Regions from separate parts of the Homo sapiens genome. Here regions 1 and 3 are each linked to region 2. The links are contacts of gene promoters, found by promoter capture Hi-C in blood cells and fetal thymus (Javierre and others, 2016). All regions are on one chromosome and are shown on one strand. The core of a region is centred on a gene start or on the middle of the fragment in contact, and the rest is flanking DNA. Distances in the headings are between cores, read along the strand shown. Region 1 overlaps CAMSAP2 (calmodulin regulated spectrin associated protein family member 2). Region 2 holds the start of KIF14 (kinesin family member 14). Region 3 overlaps CAMSAP2 (calmodulin regulated spectrin associated protein family member 2).

Evidence for each region. Contacts are between HindIII fragments. The CHiCAGO score rates a contact against its expected background, and 5 or more counts as called.
Region 1: a contact is called between a fragment that was not itself captured here and the fragment with the promoter of KIF14 in region 2, in 17 of 17 cell types (naive CD4 T cells, total CD4 T cells, activated CD4 T cells and 14 more). The highest score is 22.2, in naive CD4 T cells.
Region 3: a fragment that was not itself captured here is called in contact with the fragment with the promoter of KIF14 in region 2 in 11 of 17 cell types (M2 macrophages, M0 macrophages, total CD4 T cells and 8 more); the score reaches 13.0 in M2 macrophages.

Annotation. Positions count from the first base shown.
Region 1 is chr1:200,805,124-200,808,807 of GRCh38, forward strand. CAMSAP2 (calmodulin regulated spectrin associated protein family member 2) reads left to right here. Exons shown (of 17, transcript NM_203459.4): 3 at 2,253-2,414. Among named protein-coding and RNA genes, the nearest start is that of GPR25, 66 kb to the right of the region's middle. The HindIII fragment of the contact is 1,926 bases long and covers 636-2,561 here.
Region 2 is chr1:200,618,532-200,622,333 of GRCh38, forward strand. It overlaps KIF14 (kinesin family member 14), which reads right to left and starts at 2,220. Exons shown (of 30, transcript NM_014875.3): 1 at 1,880-2,220; 2 at 1-307. The coding sequence starts at 192. RefSeq lists an enhancer at 1,488-1,989 and a silencer at 2,158-2,307. The HindIII fragment of the contact is 3,652 bases long and covers 351-3,802 here.
Region 3 is chr1:200,824,479-200,828,670 of GRCh38, forward strand. The region is part of intron 4 of CAMSAP2 (calmodulin regulated spectrin associated protein family member 2); the gene reads left to right. Among named protein-coding and RNA genes, the nearest start is that of GPR25, 46 kb to the right of the region's middle. The HindIII fragment of the contact is 5,432 bases long and covers 1-4,002 here.

The DNA of each region.
Region 1 (3,684 bases), core at 349-2,848, 190 kb after region 2:
CAGTATATGGCACATAAGTTAGACTTAGTAAGTAGGAGCCACTGTTGGTTTTATGATTGCCAGTGTTAAGCATTCTGCTTCTTACAAAGCGTCAGCTTTCCTATAAATACTGCTCAGTTTTCTAGAAGCTGGAACTGCCACCTCCTAAACGATCAGAATTCACTTCCTCAACCTCCAGAGTAACCCAGCTCTTGAGTCTTTATAGTAACCAAAAGGCTAGCTTCTTTCTTTCCTTTCCTTTCTTTAGCCCCTGCTAGTTGCCAGATACCACGTTAGATGTAGGGAATAGGAAGATAACTGAGATAATATCCTACAACTGTCTATCTAGAGAAATAGAGTCATATGCAGGTGACTGTGCACATGTCAGAGAAATCAGTGGTTCTCAACCCTGGCTGCTCATTAGCATCACCTGGGGAAGCTGTTTAAAAATACCAGTGCTGATGCCGTACTTTAGATAATTTAGAAATTAATGCAAACAGAAACAATATTCTGTAGGAACCTGTACTCATTGATAGGTTGAGTGAGTCATTTTGATTGGAAAGAGAACTGGAAAAATCTTCACAATCAGAGTAACATTCAAACCAACGACAAAACTTAGTCTGTATTGTTAGGAGGACAACAAGCCAGGGCACAAAAGCTTGAAAACTGGTAGCAGATTGGAGAAGGAAATGGTAGATTCTAAGGCTAGACTAACAAAGCAGCTAATAAGAAAGAAAGAAAGAAACTTTACCTCTTTTAAGGAGTTTAGACTTCGTTATGTAGAAAATGAGGTAGACTTTATGAGAGAATGATATGATGCAATCTCCGATTTGGAAAAAACAGCCGCTAGTTTATAACATTGTCAAAAGTAAATTCCAGATGGAATTAAAGTTATGGAAAAAATAGAGAATAATATTTCTATATTTTGGGGTTGGAGAAGACCTTTATAAACATGTTATCAACTCCAAAGCCATAAAGGAAAACACTGAGATTAACAGATTTTACCAAGTAAATATTTAAAACTCTGCAACAAAAGGTACCCTAAAGTTGAAAGTCTGGAGAAAAACTAGGGGAAAGTATTTGCTACCTCAATGACAGAAGGTTAAAAAGTACTTAATATATAATGAGCTCTTACAAATCAGTTAAGAATAGGCAAAAGATTTGAGCAGGTAGCTTTCCAAAGAAGAAATGCAAATGGTTGCTAAAGCACATAAAAGGATGCTCATCTTCAGTGATAATCAGGATTGTAAAGTCAAACAAGAGTGGGGTCTTCTAAACTTTCATGTTGATACAGATTTTTAAAAGTGAATAATATCTAATGTTGTCAAAAATGTGGAGAAACAGGCAGGCTGATAACGTTGGTGGGAGATAAGTTGGTGTAACCTTTCTAGAGAGTAGATTAATGGTTATCTATCAAAACTTAAATTGTGGTTGCCCTTGGACCCAGTGGCCACAACTAAGAATTATCCCTGGAGAAATACAATGTTGTAACATTGTTGGTAATGCCAAGCAGTGTAAATGTGTACATATTTCATAGGCATTAAACTTTTTTGTAGGAATATATACCAGACTGAAGAAACTGGTGGAGGGAGGGGCACTTCATATACTACTGTAATGTTTTTTTTAGAACTTCCATATAATTGTGTGTGTGTGTGTGTGTGTGTATCTATCTATCTATCTATCTATCTATCTATCTATCTATCTATCTATCTATGCCAAATCTATCTATCTGTGCCAAAGGCTAGAAGTCCTGTTCTGGATGAATTAGATGAGGAAGAAGTTGGAGGCAGGAAAACCAGTTAAAGAATTTTTTACCTTGTTCAAGTGTGAGAAATGTTTGGGTCTGAATTGGAACTGTGACAATCAGAATGAGGAAGAGGGAAGATTTGAAAGATAGAGAATCTATAAACTTGTACTATGTGGGTGAGAAGAATGAGGAAAGACTGTCAAAGATGGTTCTGAAGTCGGTAAGTTATATTGCTGAGTAAATGACCATGACATTATAAAAAATAGGAAAAACAAGAAAAGAAGCATCTTTGGAGTAGAAGATAATGAGTATCTTAAATATAGATCCTCAATAAGTATTTGAACAATAAATTAGTTTGGGTCAGTTAGCTCATCTTTAGCATGTACAATTTATGCTTTCTTATTAAGGCTGGTCTTCTGTAGTTATTCTGCTGCTTGTTAGGAGATGTCATTAACATTTCAAAATATGTAAAAAGCAATTTCTAAATATAATTTTTAAACTATTTGTTCTTGTTTTATATTTTCAGAGTGCACATTTGGCCATGATCGATACCCTCATGATGGCTTATACTGTAGAAATGGTCAGTATAGAAAAAGTAATTGCGTGTGCTCAGCAGTATTCAGCTTTTTTTCAAGCCACAGATCTGCCCTATGATATTGAGGACGCTGTCATGTACTGGATAAATAAGGTAGGATTATACTCACTTGAGTAAATCGCATCTCATAGCCAGAAAACGTGAAATTCTAAATTATACATTGCCACTTCATTACTCTTTTTGTTTCAAATCAAAGTGCAAACTTAAGTTGTAAAATACACTTAAATTTTTTAGTAAAAAAGCTTAAAATGATGAAAATAGTTTTCTGTATACTTAGCAATATTTATGATTACTCTTTTTTTTTTTTTTTTTTTGAGAAGTAGTCTCGCTCTGTCACCCAGGCTGGAGTGAAGTGGCATGATCTCGGCTCACTGCAACCTCCGCCCTTCAGGTTCTAGCAATTCTCATGCCTCGGCCTCCCAAGTAGCTGGGATTACAGGCGTTTGCCACCACACCCGGCTAATTTTTGTGTTTTTAGTGGAGACGAGTTTTCGCCATGTTGGCCAGGCTGGTCTGGAACTCCTGGCCTCACGGTGATCTACCCACCTTGGCCTCCCAAAGTGCTGCAATTACAGGCGTGAGCCACCACGCCTGGCCAATATTTATAATTACTCTTAATGATTAATCTGGTTCATACCAGATTATGAAAAAATTCAGAACACTCCTAATAGTGAACTATACACAGTGGGTGTTCAGTAAATATTTTTTGAATTCATTTCAAGAATGAAATAATTTTCTTACATTTCCAGTTAGGGGATTCTTAGGTTTGCTTGACCAAGTTGCACAAGATCCTATTGATTGTGGATTCCTCTTCTTGGAAATTTTTATGGAGCTGTGATTTGTGCTTTGAAGATGCTTAATTTGTCAGCTTATCACTCCCTTTGCCAATTTGAGTAGTTAATTTGTCTTGATCCACTTTCATTTACAACTGCCAGCCAAAAGAAAATTAAACCTTATCTGAAGACAAGCACTAAACGGATTTAAAAGAAGTTATATCTCCAGGTATCCTTTCTTGAAAGCTGGCATGAAGCTCGTAATAAAAAGCTAAATGTAAAAAACACTATTACAGCTATCTTCATTATCCATAATATCAGTATCATTGTAGAAGGACTGCTTAATACTTTGCCTCTGGAGTTCCTTTATTTCTTCATCTTTAGTAATCTTTCCCTGACTCCTCCTCAGCTGTAGAAAATCACAGTTACATTCTAGACCTATTCATCTTGAGAAACTATGCAACCTTCACATCCCATTACAGACTTCCCATTCTTGAACAGTTTCTCCTATCTTCCTAACCCACTTGCTTTAAATAATAATTTTTAAAATGTTGAACCTCATTATGACTTATAAACTATTGAGCCTATTA
Region 2 (3,802 bases), core at 970-3,469:
ATTTATGTCTCTGACTTTACCTGCAGATCTCAATAATGGATCATCATTTTCACATTCTGACATATCCGACTTCAAATGCAGCTTAAGTCGGCTACTGTGGGTGAGGGCATTCAGTGATGAACTATTTTGGGAAGAAGGAATATCAAGAATATCACCGCTGTTATTTCTATTATGAGTACTGTGTAATGACATTTTGGCAGACAGTTATTTTAAAAAAGAATGTTACTAAGACCCTAAGCTCTTCTTTGGACATTCATTTGATTTCCAGCCATTTCTTATGTATCCATTTCTGAAAGTATCTGCTAAACTAAAAGAAAAAAAAAAGATTTAGATCACACAGACTACAAACAAGCTTTAAAAATATAGAGAGAACATCCCATTGTGTAAGTAAATTCCCAGAGGCATACATTACAATAGATCACAATCTGCAGCTCAGATACTGCTTCCAAGCAACTTCAGGCAAGTCTCTCAGAGAACTTACCATCATTATTCAACAAATATTGACTAAGTTTCCATTAGTGCCAGGCCCTCTGATAGATACTGTAGACTTCAAAGACAAGAATACAATTCCCATTTCTTTAGTCTAGAAGAAATATACTGATAAGCCATATATCAGGCCAAATGTGTCAAGTGACTTAGAAGATGTAAAAAGTGCATGCCAACATAGATTTTCAAGTACTTCCAGTGTGGGGAATGGGAAGGACTAAAGGAAACCCTAGCACCTAAATCAGAGTGTGGAGCAAAGTATTTTTATAAATACCTGCTACACGTATTTTTTTTTTTTGCCAATGTTCCATAAGAAGGTTTATTTTATTTTATTTTTATAAAAATATTTTTTTTGAGATGGAGTCTTGCTCTGTCACCAGGCTGGAGTGCAGTGGCACGACCTTGGCTTGCTGCAACCTCCTCCTCCTGTATTCAAGCAAATCTCCTGCCTTAGCCTCCCAAGTAGCTGGGACTACAGGCGCCCACCACCATGCCCAGCTAATTTTTGTATTTTTAGTAGAGACGGGGTTTCACCATGTTGGCCAGGATGGTCTCGATATCTTGACCTTGTGATCCGCCCGCCTCGGCCTCCCAAAGTGCTGGGATTACAGGCGTGAGCCACCGCGTCCGGCCCATGTATGTTGAATACAGGAATGCCTATAGAGAAGATTGAATTGATTGGTGTCACGAGGCAGATTATTCCCAAGTACCACAGGCAGTAAGTACGATAAGTACTGTAAATTAATTGTGTTGAGAAAAACCATGCAAGATTAGATAAACAGACAACCTGCCCTTTAGCAGTAAGACAACAAATTAGACAGAGGTGTATGTAAATATACAGCAACAATATCTATCAGGTATTAACGTTTTAAAGAAAGGGAACAGCAGTGACAGCTAAGAGACCTGGCTTTTAGTCAGCTTTGTATCCAACTCCTTACAAGGATGTAAACAAGACTTTAAATTTGCATGCCGGGTTCTAACCTGTAAAATGACACTGGTTCAAACTATTGCAAAGATTATTGCTAGCGAGGAACAAATTAATGGAAGTTCATTTTTAAATGAGGCTTTTAAATTTTTACATAAATAACAGTCATTACAAAAAAAATTCGTCAGCTTATAAGCATCTCCCATCAACGTTTCAACTCAAAATACAGAATTTTCCTGTTATGAAATGAATTTAAAGGCAAAAAGAAGATTCTGGAAATTCTCTTGCAACTAAAAACCATTTGCGATTTGCACAAATCAATACGGTTTCTGTTTGAGGAGTTTCGCCATCAGATTTTAAAGAGGACTGGAAGGAATACAAGGAAAATAAGCACAATCCAAACCAAAACATCCGGTGATTCTGTTCTTTCTCTGCTAGTCATTACCAGGGGCTATGACTAAGAATTACCTCTTAATGCCAACCGACTCGGGGAGACTCGGGGAGAAGCCCACGGGCCGAGAGGCCCTGAAGTCCGGCTTCCCGGTCCCAGCAGAGACGCTGCCTTGCGCCCTTCGTTCGGGGACCCCTTCGCCGCCGACCTGGAATGCTGAGGAACTGAATGGGGGACTGGAGCTAAGACCACCCGCCCGCAGAGCAGTGGTCGCCTGTAGGGAAAGCGTCCGCACGCCCTCCCCAGTGCCGAAACTTCGCCCCTCCGCAGGGTCCGGCACCTTGGGGACCCCCTCGACACAGTCCCCACGCCACTCACCACCTCCAGCGCCGGCTCCCCAGAAGGCCGCAATTTGAATGGGCGCCCCGCCTTCTGATTGGCTGCTGGGCGTCGCGTCGGGTGCCGCGCCTTTGCTTCCACCCGCCCCCCGGAAGTGCCGGTGGTTGGGCTCCGGTAGCCGTCTCTGAATGCTGGACTCGCCCCACCCTCATCTCCCAGGCAACGCTCCCTCCCCTCCTCGGGTTCTGCTAAAGCGTGGAGCTTGGCCCCCTTTAAATCCGACCAGAGGAAGGGGCGGCGGTCGCGGGCGCAGCGGGCCCCTCGTTGAAGTGGGTGTCAAACGAAAAGCATGACAGTGACACTCTTGTCGGTCTTTAATCTAAAAGAAGCCATTACATCGAAGACTTCACATTGTAAATGGATATTTGCCCCCAAGTTAATCATAATAATTAACTTTTCTAGTGTTTCCTATGCAAGGCGTTCACGTAGGAAATATGCTAAATGTCTTATATGAATTTTTAAACAGTCCTGAAAATCTTGTGAGATAAATATTAATGTTATCCCTCGTTTACAGATGAGGAACTGAGGTTTAGAGTTAAACTTGTGAAAGATCAGACAATTAGCAGTGGCATAACTAGAACTTGAAGGTTCTTGCCGCCGTACAATGTAACTCCGTTTCAGTAAAAGTTCCCTTTTTTTAATTTTTTTTTTCTTTTTTGAGACGGAGTCTCGCTCTGCAGCCCAGGCTGGAGTGCAGTGGCCCCTGCAACCTCCGCCTCCCTGGTTCAAGCGATTCTCCTGCCTCAGCCTCTGGAGTAGCTGGGATTACAGGCGCGCACCACCACGCCCAGCTAATTTTTGTATTTTTAGTAGAGACGGGGTTTCACCATATTGGCCAGGCTGGTCTCGAATTCCTGACCTTGTAAGCTGCCAGGCGTGAGCCACTGCGCCGCCCAGCCCCCATAAGATTTTGAAATCTGAAAAAATATTACAAATACATTCTGAAAAATAACCAAATAAATGAGAAAGACTAGATAAATAGATATTGTAAAGCAACAATGTTTTTTAAACAGGCAAAAAGTACAGAGATATTGAAGAAGTATTCACTGAGATAGAGACCATAAGTAGCTCCAATTATATAGACCAACCAAACAGATGATAAAGTACTCATTCTAAATCTTACTCTAAAAATCATTCTAAAACTCAATTAAAATTAAGGTATAAGGAAACTATCAGAAAATAGAATATAATATTTATCAGGGCCAGGTGCGGTGGCTCACGCCTGTAATCTTAGCACTTTGGGAGACCAAGGCAGGCGGATCACTTGCAGTCAGGAGTTTAAAACCAGCCTGGCTAACATGGTGAAACCCCGTCTCTCCTAAAAATACAAAAATTAGGCAGCCGTGGTGGCGGGCCCCTGTAATCCCCGTTACTCAGGAGGCTGAGGCAGGAGAATCACGTGAACCGGGTAGGCGGAGGTTGCAGTGAGCCGAGATCGCGCCATTGCACTCCAGCCTGGGGGACAAGAGAGAAACTCCGTCTCAAGAAAAAAAAAAAAAAAAGTTATCACATCTATGGGAAAATGATCATTCAATTTAGAAACAAAGCAAGATATGTCAAAGAAAAGACAGACAAACTCAAATACATAAAAATTTTAAACA
Region 3 (4,192 bases), core at 37-2,536, 210 kb after region 2:
ATACACAAACATGAGTTCATATATAAACCTCCAATTCCAATCAAACTCCACAGAGTTCTTCCTGGCTTCCCCTATTCCATGCAGGACTTCCCCTTCCACAGTGAGAACTCAGGCTTCCAACAGCATTAATATATTTTACTTATTTGCTCAGTCCTACAATACATATACAGTAGTTTCAGAATTGCTATACTCATACCAATATGAAAAATAAACCTACTGGCCGGGCATGGTGGCTCAAGCCTATAATCCCCGCACTTTGGGAGGCCGAGGCGGGTGGATCACTTGAGGTCAGAAGTTTGAGACCAGCCTGGCCAACATGGTGAAACCCCGTCTCTACCAAAAATACAAAAATTAGCCAGGTGTGTTGGCATGCGCCCGTAATCCCAGCTACTTGGGAGGCTGAGGCAGGAGAATTGCTTGAGCCCGGGAGGCGGAGGTTGCAGTGAGCCGAGATCGTGCCAGTGTACTCCAGCCTAGGTGACAGAGTGAGACTCTGTCTCAAATAAATAAATAAATAAATAAATTTAAAAACCTACTAAGAAGAATTTAAGATTTGTTTGCAATTTTTTTTTAGACTAATAGTATATAGTCAAAGTACAGTGTTCTTAAGTTGTTTCCCTCTGCCCCCGCCTTCACTGTGGTTATATTATTCCTTTGAAATACATTTGTGTTAATTGGTTTCTGTATTCTTTCCATTTTAGCGATCTTTTTTGACACCATCCTTGTTAACTTTTGTTTTTTGAATATGTAGAACATTGACATAATTCCAAAAATCAGAACTATATAAATGGTATACTCAGAGAAGTATCAATCCCTCCCCTATCTCTTCTACCCCTTACTTATTCCACATGTACTCCCTCCCAGCCCTTCTAAATGGACCAAGCACGTATGTGCATGTTTGTTTCTCCTCCTTTCTAGCACAAAACATAACATATTTATTCTTTTGCAGTTTGCTCTTTTCAGTAACTGTATATCCTGGAAATTACTCCATACGGTCCCTAGAGATCATTCTTTCTTTCTTTCTTTCTTCCTTTTTTTTTTTTTTTGAGACAGAGTCTTGCTCTGCCACCCAGGCTGGAGTGCAATGGTGCGATCTCGGCTCACTGCAACCTCTGCCTCCCAGGTTCAAGCGATTCTTCTGCCTCAGCCTCCCAAGTAACTGGTACTACAGGCGAGCGCCACCACACCTGGCTAATCTTTGCATTTTTTAGTAGACACGGGGTTTCGCCATGTTGGCCAGGCTGGTCTCGACCTCCTGACCTCGTGATCTACCCGCCTTGGCCTCCCAAAGTGCTGGGATTACAGGTGTGAGCTACTGTGCCCGGCCAATCATTATTTCTTAAAGCAGCATAGTGCTGCCTTGTGAATATGTGCCATAGTTTCTTCAACTATGTACCTATGTGTAGGCATTTAAGTAGTTTCCAGTATCTTGCTATTGCAAATTGTGCTGCACAGAATACTGTTATATGTGGCCTTTTGTATTTTGGATATGTATTTTCAAGGTAAATTTCCTAGAAGTTGGACTGCTAGATTGAAGGGTAAATGCATACTGTATGTAGTTTTGTTAAATGTTGACGAAATCCCCTCCAAAAGAGCTTGTACCATTTTATATTCCATCAGCGATTCGGCATAACTTTTGGATCTGCAACAGCTAGGAGATTAAGTCTAATGGCTGGGCGTGGTGGCTCACACTTGTAATCCCAGCACTTTGGGAGGCCTAGGTGGGAGGTTCACTTGAGGTCAGGAGCTCAAGACCAGCCTGGCCAACATGGTGAAACCCCGTCTCTACCAAAAAATACAAAAATTAGCCAAGCATGGTGGTGCATGCCTGTTGTCCCAGCTACTAGGGAGGCTGAGGTGGGAGAATTGCTTGAACCTGGGAGGCAGAGGTTGCAGTGAGCTGAGATAGCTCCGCTGCCCTCTACCCTGGGTGACAGAGGGAGACTGTCTCAAAAAAAAAAAAAAAGATTAAATCTAACAAGTTAACAAGTCATGCAGTAACAAGTCACAGCCATGATTAACTCCCTGAAGGACCCCAACTCTTTGAGGTCTCCAATAAAGACCACACCAAACCAATATCCTCCTGGAACGGCCTGAGAGCACCTAGAAGTAGTTCAGGAATTATCCTACCTTGCCAGAATGTTGTAGATACCCAGAGGAAGAGTATTATTTGGAGAGTATTAATGGCAAGTCCTAAAACAACTAGCCAAAATTCAGGGTGAGCCAAACATGTATTATAAAGACAATTGAAAGGAATATTTGAAATTAGAACTATTCCAGAAAATCTGGACTGCCTAGGTTGGCCCCTTTGTCGGTAGAAACTTAATAAAAGTTTTTTCACCTGTTATCCATGGGTTTTAAAAAACCCTTTGTTTCTTGCCTGGTGGTCCTGATAAAAAGAAAAAAAAAATCAAAAAACCTTTGTCCTCGTGGTTATTTACATCTTAAAACAGGATTTGATGTTGCAGTTTGCCTAATTCTTCCCTGAAAACCAAAAGGATAGTTGCTGATCACTTCAGAAATGGCGTTATTCTTCAGCAAGGAACTTATGCTATGTATTTGAGCTTTTTGAAGCATACGTATATAAGTATGCATAGTATATTTATTTGTTCTTTTAGTACATTTACTCTTTAGTTAAATTTCCTTCACACAGCCAATCTGTGGGTTTCCTTTTTCCGCCAAGAAGATTGCTGTTACCAGTTTAGATCAATGGAGGGCCAAGAGAAAGGCCAGAGCAGTCTGAATTAGTAACAAAATCCAATTATTGCATATTTTACAAGAAATATGGAATAACTTTAACCGTTAAGAGACTTCTTTGTACACCTGCTGTTAGGAATAGTCCACAATAATTTCTTGTTATCACCATTTTCTATTTAATGGGTTCTTCTAGTCTAGAAAACAAAAAAATCCTTGTTTTTAAAATTTCTGTTACAAATTGGAAACCCTGACACGTTTTCAGTGGCTTCCTGCTCTTTGGTCCTGCTCTTGTACTTTTTGTGGCTATTATAACTGCAGCTGCCAAAAACGTTCAGTTAAATGGGAGATTAAAATACATTCCACAAAATTATTGAGGCTATTCTTCCTGGTGCTATAAGAAAAATTTATTGGAAATGTTGTTTATATGTAGGAAGCTGGTATGTTTCTGATTCTTCAGGTGACATTTTTCTAATTCTTAAAGTTCTTGAAAATACCTTATTTATATTATTTTTCTGTTTATACGGAAAAACTTTCTACATAAAAATTTTGGATATGAATTTTAATTTTGGATATGAATTTTAACTCAGATTCTATTTACTTTGGTTCACTTCAACAAACATTTATTCAGAGCCAGAAGCTGTTTTAGCAGATACAAAGATAAACAAACACAAATGATTAATTCATGTTATCTGAAATTATGGGTTTATTATATTCATTTTTTTAAAGAAGAAAATTAGATTCTTTGGGACAGCCCTAGATAGTAAATTTAATAACATTTATATTCTCTTTGTGTGAGTAGTTACTTGCTTTAGACACTTACAAAAATCTTAACTGGTAACAATTGCCAACTAGGTTTTTTTCCATTAATTAAAAGAAACTTTTTATATAGTGAAGGAAATGATCATCTTGATATATTCTACTATATTATTATTTGCTTTATACTTGTTTTTATTGAAATTATCTTTCTACTTTGCTTTTTGGGGAATATTGCCTTGTCAGACACAGTCTACTAATACCTAAGAATTATGATTGCAAACCTAGCTGTAGAATATTTTTACTTCCCTTTTGTGATATAGATTTATTTTTTAATATGACATATGATTCCAAAACTCAGAAATAAAATTTTTTGCTGCTAAAGTATACAGCATATTCTAGGTATCCTACAATGAATATCTGTATGGGGAGAGGAGAGAGACAGGAGAAGATAGTGGTCTTTAGCATTAGGAACTTATGTATTTTTAACTAAAATATTTATTAACATATGAAATGTTATGAGAACTATAAACTTGGAACTCCACTATCAGAAGCTTTACTATAATTTGTTAATTGAAGATAATTCTGATGAATTTTCCCTTTACCTTTTGCTTTCCCCTTTTTTCCCGCTGCTTCCTCTGAAGTCTCCTTCCAAATGGTTTTGGAAACTGGTTCCAGTAAGTTTGCTCAGCTACTTCAGTTTGCTCTCCAGAATTGTAATTGTAGAATGGTATTGTTTATG